Linked DNA regions of Homo sapiens: all the other regions are linked to region 3. Evidence: promoter capture Hi-C in human tissues and cell types (Jung and others, 2019). All regions are on one chromosome and are shown on one strand. The core of a region is centred on a gene start or on the middle of the fragment in contact, and the rest is flanking DNA. Distances in the headings are between cores, read along the strand shown.

Region 1 (3,925 bases), core at 631-3,130, 37 kb before region 3:
CCAGCCACTGCAAAAACACACCAAAATATAAAGACCAACAACACTATGAAGAAACTGCATTAACTAATGAGCAAAATAACCAGATAGCATCATGTTGACAGGATCAAATTCACACATAACAATGTTAACCTTAAATGTAAATGGGCTAAATGCCCCAATTAAAAGACACAGACTAGCCAGGCGCAGTGGCTCACGCCTGTAATCCCAGCACTTTGGGAGGCTGAGGCGGGTGGATCAAGAGGTCAGGAGTTCAAGACCAGCTGGGCCAACATAGTGAAACCCTGTCTCTACTAAAAATACAAAAAATTGCTGGGCGTGGTGGCACACGTCTGTAATCCCAGCTACTTGGGAGGCTGAGGCAATAGAATCCCTTGAACCTGGGAGGCGGAGGTTGCAGTGAGATGAGATCGACCCACTGCACTCCAGCCTGGGAGACAAAGCAAGACTTAGTCTCAAAAAAAAAAAAAGACACATACTGGCAAATTGGATAAAGAGTCAAGACCCATCACTGTGCTGTATTCAGGAGATCAATCTCACGTGCAAAGACACACAGAAGCTCAAAATAAAGGGATGGAGGGTTATTTACCAAGCAAATGGAAAGCAAAAAAAAAGCAGGGGTTGCAATCCTAGTCTCTGATAAAACACACTTTAAACCAACAAAGATCAAAAAAGATGAGGGCATTACATAATGGTAAAAAGATCAATACAACAAGAAGAGCTAACTATCCTAAATATATATGCACCCAATACAGGAGCACCCAGATTCATAAAGGAAGTTGTTAGAGACCTACAAAGAGACTTAGACTCCCACACAATAATAGTGGGAGACTTCAACACCCCACTGTCAATATTAGACAGATCAACGAGACAGAAAATTAACAAGGATATTCAGGACTTGAACTCAACTCTAGACCAAGTGGAGCTAATAGACATCTACAGAACACTCCACCCCAAATCAACAGAATATACATTCTTCTCGGCACCACATAGCACTTATTCTAAAATTGACCACATAATTGGAAGTAAAATACTCCTCAGCAAATGCAAAAGAACGGAAATCATAACAAAAGAAAGGAAATCATAACAAACAGTCTCTCAGAACACAGTGCAATCAAATTAGAACTCAGGGTTAAGAAACTCACTCAAAACCACACAACTATATGGAAATTGAACAACCTGCTCCTGAATGACTACTGGGTAATAACGAAATTAAGGCAGAAATAATGAAGTTGTTTGAAACCAATGAGAGCAAAGAGACAACATACCAGGGTTGTTGTGCTGGGACACAGCTAAAGCAGTGTTAAGTGGGAAATTTATAGTACTAAGTGCCCACATCGGAAAGCTGGATAGATCTGAAATTGACACCCAAACATCACAATTAAAAGAACTAGAGAAGCAAGAGCAAACAAATTCAAAAGCCACCAGAAGACAAGAAATAACTAAGATCAGAGCAGAACTGAAGGAGATAGAGACACAAAAAACCCTTCAAAAAATCATTGAGTCCAGGAGCTGGTTTTTTGAAAAGATTAACAGAATAGATAGACCACTAGCTAGACTAATAAAGAAGAAAAGAGAGAAGAATCAAATAGATAATAAAAAATTATAAAGAGGCTATCACCACTGGTCCCACAGAAATACAAATTACCATCAGAGAATACAATAAACATCTCTACACAAATAAACTAGAAAATCTAGAAGAAATGGATGAATTCCTGCACACATACACCTCCCAAGACTAAATCAGGAAGAAGTCAAATCCCTGAATAGACCAATAACAAGTTCTGAAATTGAGGCAGTAATTAATAGCCTAGCAACCAAAAAAATCCCAGGACCAGACAGATTCACAGCTGAATTCTACCAGAGGTACAAAGAGGAGCTGGTACCATTCCTTCCGAAACTATTCCAAACAATAGAAAAAGAGAGACTACTCCCTAACTCATTTTATGAGGCCAGCATCATCCTGATACCAAAACCTGGCAGAGACACACACACGAAAAAAGAAAATTTCAGGCCAATATCACTGATGAACACTGATGCAAAAATCCTTAATAAAATATTGGTAAACCAGGCCAGGCGCAGTGGCTCACACCTGTAATCCCAGCACTTTGGGAGGCCAAGGCAAGCAGATCATGAGGTCAAGAGATCGAGACCATCCTGGCCAACCTGGTGAAGCCCCGTCTCTACTAAGAATACAAAAATCAGCTAGGCGTGGTGGCGCATGCCTGTAGTCCCAGCTACTCGGGAGGCTGAGGCAGGAGAATCACTTGAACCCGGGAGGAAGAGGTTGCAGTGAGCCAAGATTGCGCCACTGCCCTCTAGCCTGGCGACAGAGCGAGACTCCGTCTAAAAAAAAAAAAAAATACTGGCAAACCAAATCCAGCAGCACATCAAAAAGGCTTATCCACCACGATCAAGTCGGCTTCATCCCGGGGATGCAAGGCTGGTTCAACATACGCAAATCGATAAACATAATCCATCACATAAACAGAACCAATGACAGAAAGCACATGATTATCTCAATAGATGCAGAAAAAGCCTTTAATAAAATTCAACAGCCCTTCATGCTAAAAACTCTCAATAAACTAGGTATTGATGGAACATATCTCAAAATAATAAGAGCTATTTATGACAACCCACAGTCAATATCATACTGAATGGGTAAAAGCTGGAAGCATTCCCTTTGAAAACTGGCACAAGACAAGGATGCCCTTTCTCACCACTCCTATTCAACATAGTGTTGGAAGTTCTGGCCAGGTCAATGAGGCAAGAAAAAGAAATTAGTGGTATTCAAATAGGAAGAGAGGAAGCCAAATTATCTCTGTTTGCAGATGACATGATTGTATATTTAGACAACCCCATCATCTCAGCCCAAATACTCCTTAAGGTGATAAGCAACTTCAGCATATAAAATCAATGTGCAAAAATCACAAGCATTCCTATATACCAATAATAGACAAGCAGAGAACCAAATCATGAGTGAAATCCCATTCACAATTGCTACAAAAAGAATAAAATATCTAGGAATACAACTTACAAGGAATGTGAAGGATCTCTTCAAGGAGAACTACAAACCACTGCTCAAGGAAATAAGCGGGGACACAAACAAATGGAAAAAAATTCCATGCTCATGGATAAGAAGAATAAATATCATGAAAATGGGCATACTGACCTAAGTAATTTATAGATTCAATGCTATTCCTACTAAGCTATCATTGACTTTCTTTGCAGAATTAGAAAAACTACTTTAAATTTCATATGGAACCAAAAAAGAGCCTGTATAGCCAAGACAATCCTAAGCAAAAAGAACAAAGCTGGAGGCATCACGCTGTCTTACCTCAAATTATACTAATAGGCTACAATAACCAAAACAGCATGGTACTGGTACCAAAACAGATATATAGACCAATGGAACAGAACAGAAGCTTCAGAAATAACACCACACATCTACAACCATCTGATCTTCAACAAACTTGACAAAAGCAAGCAATGGGGAAAGGATTCCCTATTTAATAAATGGTGCCAGGAAAACTGGCTAGCCATACGCAGAAAACAGAAACCGGATCCCTTCCCTACACCTTATACAAAAATTAACTCAAGATGGATTAAAGACTTAAATGTAAAACCTAAAACCATAAAAGCCCTAGAAGAAAACCTACACAATACCACTCAGGACATGGGCATGGGCAAAGACTTCATGACTAAAACACCAAAGCAATGGCAAGAAAAGCCAAAATTGACAAATTGAATCTAATTAAACTAAAGAGTTTCTGCACAGCCAAAGAAACTACCATCAGAGTGAACAGGCAACCTACAGAATTGGGAGAAAATTTTTGCAATCTATCCATCCGACAAAGGTCTAATATCCAGAATCTACAAGGACCTTAAACAAATTTACAAGAAAAAAACAACCCCATCAAAAAGTGGG
Region 2 (3,856 bases), core at 213-2,712, 57 kb before region 3:
ATCCAAGAAGATGAGTTTAGTTTGAGATTTTTGGTTTTTTTGTTCTTGTTGTTTGCTCTCACAGGTAGAAATCATTTCTATAGTTTCTCAGTAACTCATTCCAATGTTTATCAATCCATCTCCTGAGGAAACTATTCTTTACACTTTTTAAAATCTGAATATGTCATATGGCAACACTTATTCTATTATTAATAGAGGGGAAACTACTATTTGATGGTCCTTCAGAACCCTGAAGATTTTGATCATCTCCATGAGAAATAATCCATGTCCTTTAACATTTCTTTAAGTTCTCACTGTCCCACCTTTTAATCATCTTTGTTGTTCACCTCCTGACTATTTCTTGCAGTGATATCTTTAAACGTTTGTTAATAAGGAGCTAACCTCTGAAAAAAAAATCATAAAACTGAGGGAGGCCATTTGCTTGAGAAACCATTGTTCCTGGGTTGTTTTGTTTGTCTTTTAACAAATCTCTATCTAAGAATGGGTCAAAACATTATTTAAACTGCAGGAATACTACCCAATATATAGTAAGAACACGCCTCATAATACATGTCACAATATGTATACATACATCTAATTTTCTGCTCTTCATTTACAAGCCAACCTCCTCCTATGGTAAGTGCCCAGTTCCATAGGTTTACTGCCATTTCTTCAATCTGGTCAAAGAGAAACATTTCCTTAGTTAGTTAAAATACTGGCCACCTCCAACGGTATTTTCATTCTTGAATGTTGTATGCTTATGTAACTATTGTGGGTCATTTCCAGGCCCTCCATAATCTAGTCGCATTCTACCTCTCCCCGCAAAAACTTACCCACTGTTAGAGTAATTATCTATTTCCTGAACACAACTTGTTCATTCCTATCAATGTGTCTTTATTCATACTATTGATATACCTTCACCTGATATACCTCCTCCCTTTGTTTTTATGTAACTCAAATCCATTTCAGTCTCACCAACAACATAAATGAAGCTTTCAGCAACCATTACAGTCTACGTTGTTCTTTCTTCTTTGAATTCATATATTCATTAAGTTGTATACAATTTGGCAATTAATTATATTACTTTGTATCATTTATTCTTTGTTTTATTTCTTTTCTTTAACCCAATTTATGCACAGCAGTGGTACAAAATGTATGTTAGTTTTAAGTCTTTTCTTCCATGCCACTTTTCTCACTTACCATTTCACATTTTTCTGATGAGCTTCAGTTTAAACAGATGATTTATTTAACATGTGATATAGTTTGGATATTTTTCCCCTGAGAATCTCATATCAAAATTTGATCCCCAATGTTGGATGTGGGGCTGATGGGAGGTACTTGGGTCACGGGGATGGATCCCTCATTGTCTTGGTGCTGTCCTCACAGTAATGAGTGAGTTCTCAGTCTATTAGTTACTGCAAGATCTGATTCTTAAAAAAGAGCCTGGTACCTCCTCCTTTCTCTTTCCTCCTCTCTCATCATGTGATGCCTGCTCCCTTTCCCCTTCCAACATGATTGGAAACTTCCAGAGGCCCTCACTGGAAGCAGATGCCAGTGCCATGCTTCTTATATGATCTGCAGAACCATGAGCCAAATAAACTTCTTTTCCTTATCAATTACCCAGCCTCAGGTATTTCCTTTATAGCAATGCAAACAGCCTAATGCAGCATGGTTGTCATTTCACTTATTATTCTGGGGCTAATTATCATGTCCATCTCCATCACATAGTATCCTCAATGCCACAGTTGATCAAATGATGACTTCCTTTTTTTTTTTTTTTTTTTTTTTGGAGACAGAGTCTCATTTTGTTGCCCAAGCTGGAGTGCAATGGCGTGATCTCGGCTCACTGCAACCACCACCTCCCGGGTTCAAGTGATTCTCCCACCTCAGCCTCCCAAGTAGCTGGGATTACAGGCACCCACCATAATGCCTGGCTAATTTTTGTATTTTTACTTGAGATGGGGTTTCACCATGTAGGCCAGACTGGTCTCGAACTCCTGACCTCAGGTGATCCGCCCGCCTCAACCTCCCAAAGTGCTGGGATTACAGGCATGAGCCACCACACCCGGCTGACTTTCATACTAAGTATTATTTCATTTGTATCACTAAAAACACATGGAGTTAATAACTGCACTCCAAATTACCCAGAAGAACAAATGATTTGACATATTATGATGGGAAATGAGCATCCAGACTAAATAGCTTAAAGAAGCTACTTGTTTGGCATTTTGGAAAGCAATTTGGCAACATATAAAAATGTTCGCCTGGGTGCGGTGGCTCACACCTGTAATCCCAGCACTTTGGGAGGCCGAGGCGGTCGGATTGCCTGAGGTCAGGTGTTCGAGACCAGCCTGGCCAACATGGTCAAACCCTGTCTCTACTAAAATATACAAAAATTAGTCGTGCGTGGTGGCAGGTGCCTGTAATCCCAGCTACTCGGGAGGCTGAGGCATGAGAATCACTTGACCCCAGGAGGCGGAGGTTGCAGTGAGCCAAGATCATGCCACTGTACTCCAGCCTGGGCGAGACAGAGCGAGACTCTGTCTCAATAAAAATAAATAAATGAGTAAATAAATAAATAAACAAATAAAGTTCATATCTTTTGTCCCAATAGTTGCACTTTTGAGACTTTATCCTAAGAAATAGATGAAAATGTGTGGGGGGATAATCTTTGCACTTAATAGTGTTCTTCATATCATTATTTATAATAGTGAAAAATGAGGAACAATATGAGAAACAATATAAATATCCAATAATAAAGAAATAGGTGAATTATGATAACCTTCCTTGATGGAATAGTATTCATCCATTTAAAATAGTGGTCATGGCCAGACATGGTGGCTCACGCCTGTAATCCCAGCACTCTGGGAGGCCGAGGCAGGTGGATCACTTGAGGTCAAGAGTTCGAGACCAGCCTGGCCAACTTGGTGAAACCCCGTCTCTACTAAAAATACAAAAAAAAAAAAAAAAATAGCCAGGTGTGGTGGTGCACACCTGTAGTCTCAGCTACTCGGGAGGCTGAGGCAGAAGAATCACTTAAACCTGAGAGGTGGAGGTTGCAGTGAGCCGAGATCGTGCCACTGCACTCCAGCCTGGGCGACAGAGCGAGACTCTGCCTCAAAAAAATAAAAATAAAAACAAAAATAAAATAAAATAGTGGTCATGAAAACTATGTTTTTAACACGGGAAAATATTTATTACATGTCTAGTGAAAAAGGAAAGAAGGAAAGATACAAAACTGTATGTACAGAAAGTTGTACATATGCAAATCTTACCCCAAAGAAGAACTTCAATAAAATATTGGATTCTAGTTAATGATATGCACACTAAAACATTTAGGGGGGAAGTGTACTGTTGTCAGCAACTCATTTTAAAATGCACCCAAAAAATAAGATGCGCTAATGGACAAATGTATATGTGATGAAGCGAATATGGTAAAATGTTTACAACTGTAGAATGTAAGTGGCTGTTACATAGGTGTCCAGTGTAATATTCTTTCAACTTTTCTGTTTGAAAATGTTTATTTTAAAATGTTGGGAAAACAGAGCAAATTGCCTTTTATGATGCCAGAAATATTACATGTACAGTATAATTATAGCTAAATAACATTTAAACTGTAAAACTATTAAAGAAAATACATTAAAATAATAGTAGTTATATTGAAGTGGTGTGTTTGCATGTGATTTTGTATCCATTTTTTTAAACTTTCTGTGAAGTTATGTTACTTTATGATTTTAAATAAATTCTTGTATTTTCTCATATTGTGTTAGAAAGGATAAGATAAACTATGACTGTAAATACTTCATAATCAGAAAACATATTTATTCAACACATATATATTAAGCACCTAAGATGTGGCAGGTTTTGTCTTAGGTTT
Region 3 (3,564 bases), core at 880-3,379:
AAGCAGAGCTCCAGGCCCGGGCCACACTGGCTGTACCTGGTGTAGCAGAGAGAGAAACATGTGGCCAAGTTCCCTTCTTCCCAGACCCCAGGCTCACACAAGTCCCTGCCTTTTTCACCTATTCTTACTTTTGTTTTGTTTTGAGACCAAGTCTCACTCTGTCACCCAGGATGGAGTGCAGTGGCACAATCTCCTCTCCCTGCAACCTCTGCCTCCTAGGTTCAAGAGATTCTCCTGCCTCAACCTCCTGAGTAGTTGGGACTACAGGTGTAAGCCACCCTGCGCGGCTAACTTTTGTATTTTTAGTAGAGACAGGGTTTCACCAGGTTGGCCAGGCTGGTCTTGAACTCCTGACCTCAGGTGATCTGTCTGCCTCGGCTTCCCAAAGTGTTGGGATTATAGGCGTGAGCCACTGCACCTGGCCTATTATTACTTTTTAAGAACCAAAACCATTCACTTAATTAAGGAAACCAGGACGGAGATGGATAGAATGAGCAATTTCTCCACACCTTCAACACCCCCCCCCAGACCCCCAGCAAACCCGCACATTTAGGGAGATTGAGGTCCTGTGAATAATATAAAGAATACTTCCACCCAGATTTCCTGACCAAAAACCCCTTTGCTGGCTGTGCAGTTCCCTCCCTCCCCCACCATATCTCACCAATGACATAGGAGAGGATGAGGTTCCAGCCAGTGGTGAAGGCCCAGAGTTCACCCACAGTGACATAGCTGTAGAGATATGCCGAACCAGAACGGGGAACCCGGGCACCAAACTCCGCATAGCACAGCCCAGCCAACACAGAAGACAGGGCAGCCACCAAAAAGCAGATCACAATGGATGGCCCTGCTTTATCTTTGGCCACCTCGCCAGCTAGGACATACACGCCTGCACCCAATGTGCTGCCCACACCCAGGGCCACTAAATCCAGGGTGCTTAGGCATCTGGCAAGGCGAGTCTCAGCCATGCCTGACTCCAGTGTACGTCTGCGTACCAGCTTTTGACCAAATCTGCGAAATGCTTGCCACGGCATCCTAGCAGGAATTGAAGAAGATGATCTGGTGAAAAACAAGACAAAAACCCCTCGACAGGGCTCATTATCCCTAAACTCTGAAAGCGAATTACAAGACCCCCTCCACCAAGCAAAGGAGCTATTGGGAAATGAGGACGGGGATATGGAAGGGACAAAGGCAAGTCACTTTACCTCTAACCTCAGTTTCTTCATAAACAAGTAGGAATTACAATACCTTACAAGGTTTTTGGAAGGGCTAATTTCAGAAATGGCACGTGAAAGCCCCCTGAAGTAGAGTGGCTGGCGCCTAGTAAGTGCTCAATCAATATTAGGTCTCTTTCTCTTGCCAGAAACTGATAGGGTTTATCCTAATCTCAACCCAGGAATCTTGAAACCTAATGTGTCAGTTCCTTGGCCTGTGGCTATTTGGGAATTAAACAGAGCTCCACCCAGGGGCTTCCCCCGGGGCTTCAAACAGACACAGCCCCCAGACCCCCCAGAGGGAGAGGGGACCAACCTCGCTGCAGATTAAAAGTGAGCACCGACTCAATTCCATCCCTCCTCACCAAGCCCACACTGCTCAACTAGCGCAGCTGTCGCCCAGGGGAGTAAGCAAATGTTCCCCTACTTCCTCCCAAGCCCTGCTAGGCTGACCTGCAAGCATCAACAGCGAGGCGGGGCTTCGACATCTAAAGATTTGGAGATGCGCCCCCAGAGGGGCCCCAGGGCAGCCCGAGATTGCTCGCACTCTCCTCTCAGCAGAGAGGAAGGGTTCCACCCGATGCCCCCCGACTCAGGTCCCAGATTTTCCTGCCCCCATCTAGAAATGGTTTGGAGCTGGGGTGGAGACGGGAGCCCTAACTCCCGGGGCGGGGGTCTCGCCAGCAACAGGTCACGGCCCCGTTGATGCAACTGCATGCCATGGTTGCCAGAGAATCCTAGGTACGCCCGGACCCTCGCCGTCCCCCCTCCGACACACGTGTGGGTCCCCAACGCTTACCAGAGAGCTGTTGCAAACCTAGGGAGCACAGAGTCTTGGACTGGGCTCGGTGAGGCGGAGTTAAGCCGAGTTGGGTTGGAGCTGCCGAGTTCGGCCGCTCAGGCTTCAAAGCTGCGGCTTGGGGTCGTTGCGCGCCAAGCGCCCCTTATATACACCAGGAGGCGGAGCCGGTAACGTCATGGGATCCCACCCCCAATCCTCCTCGCTACACACAATACACACACACACACACACACACACACACACACACACACACAACACACACACTTCTTGGCTTTGCAAAAGGATTGCGTGGGGCCTGAGACTGCGTCCCATCCTCACTAGCAAGCCTGGCGTGCCGGGGAGCGAGAAAAGGGGGAGGGCAGTCTTTTCCCATTTGTCTCGCTGGTCGTCAGAACAGGACAATAAGAGGCTTCCTGGCCAAAGAACCCATGAGATTTTCCACCTCTGTGCCCTGTTAGGACCAGTGATTCTGGGCAGGAATGGGGAAGGTAGGTGGGGTGTGATGGGGGGGAGTTGGGTGCGTGTGTGTGTGTGTGTGTGTGTGTGTGTGTGTGTGTGTGTCAGGAGTGAAGCGGAACACAGCAGGGGAGTCTCCACCTCACTCTCAGTCTTTCTTCCTTAGCTTTCTTGTCTACACATCTGACCCTGACCCTTCAGCTCTCACGCTCAGCTGTGGGTGTTTCTAATGCAGGCAGCAGGAGAATGGAAGATGATTTCAAGCCACCTGTATACAGATAATTAATCCAGTCTAAATTGATTTATAGGCCCCAATCTCTCTATAATGTGTCTCCAGCTGCCTATAAATATTAAACTATTAAATGTGAAATTCTGACAATACCAACATCTTGGAGGAGGAAGCTTGTTTAGTTCCATTTTATTGATGTGTAAGCTGAGGCTCAGAGGCATGACTTGTTTGACACCACACCATAATTATTGTTGACCACCTTTGATAAAACCTGGCCTGTTGGACTTCAATGCCTGCCTCCCGTAGGCACCATATCTTATTCAAATGAACAAGAAGAGGGATGTGGCCACAAGGAAAGACAAACAGGGAGAGGCATCAGCAGCAGGGTAGGTCCGTTTAGGCTAGGAGATACTAGGAAACAGAAAAGGACCCGAAGAATCTACGAATGATCACATTGGGTCAGATCCATAATCCATCTGACCCAATCAATTCTTACTCATAAGAAAGCACCAAAGGTTGTGAAAGTGTGGTCCCTGCTCCACCAAGACATCTTGGGGACTAAGGATGGACTCAAATATCCTTGCTTCTTTTAATGATCCATGATGAATATATTACCCATGAATCTAAAATCTAAATCCGTTCTGAAAGAATTGGTATTTTCAACCAGCTGCAGCTCCATTTGGCATTCATTAAGTATTTATTGAGCATTTATTGAGCACTATGTGTAGTAGCTGGTACAGCAATGAAGAGACTATGAAGGAAACATAAAATAAAATCCTTGCCCTCCTAGTCCTAATCTAACTAGGGAAAGAAAACACACACTATACAACTGAAACCTTATTACATAGACGTTAGGAGTGCTGTGT

The links. The method cuts DNA at HindIII sites, captures the fragments that hold promoters and counts their contacts. A contact is called where the count stands out against the background at its distance.
Region 1: a contact is called between a fragment that was not itself captured here and the fragment with the promoter of SLC7A3 in region 3, in 1 of the 25 tissues and cell types used here (neural progenitor cells).
Region 2: a contact is called between a fragment that was not itself captured here and the fragment with the promoter of SLC7A3 in region 3, in 1 of the 25 tissues and cell types used here (small bowel).

What each region holds. Positions count from the first base shown.
Region 1 is chrX:70,892,279-70,896,203 of GRCh38, forward strand. All of the region lies in intron 2 of TEX11 (testis expressed 11), which reads right to left. Among named protein-coding and RNA genes, the nearest start is that of TEX11, 14 kb to the right of the region's middle. The HindIII fragment of the contact is 5,725 bases long and covers 1-3,925 here.
Region 2 is chrX:70,872,652-70,876,507 of GRCh38, forward strand. It overlaps TEX11 (testis expressed 11), which reads right to left. Exons shown (of 30, transcript NM_031276.3): 4 at 572-656. Among named protein-coding and RNA genes, the nearest start is that of SNORD3E, 28 kb to the left of the region's middle. The HindIII fragment of the contact is 9,503 bases long and covers 1-3,856 here.
Region 3 is chrX:70,928,967-70,932,530 of GRCh38, forward strand. It overlaps SLC7A3 (solute carrier family 7 member 3), which reads right to left and starts at 2,130. Exons shown (of 12, transcript NM_032803.6): 1 at 2,011-2,130; 2 at 662-1,056; 3 at 1-36. The coding sequence starts at 1,031. RefSeq lists an enhancer at 1,373-1,874. The HindIII fragment of the contact is 11,797 bases long and covers 1-3,564 here.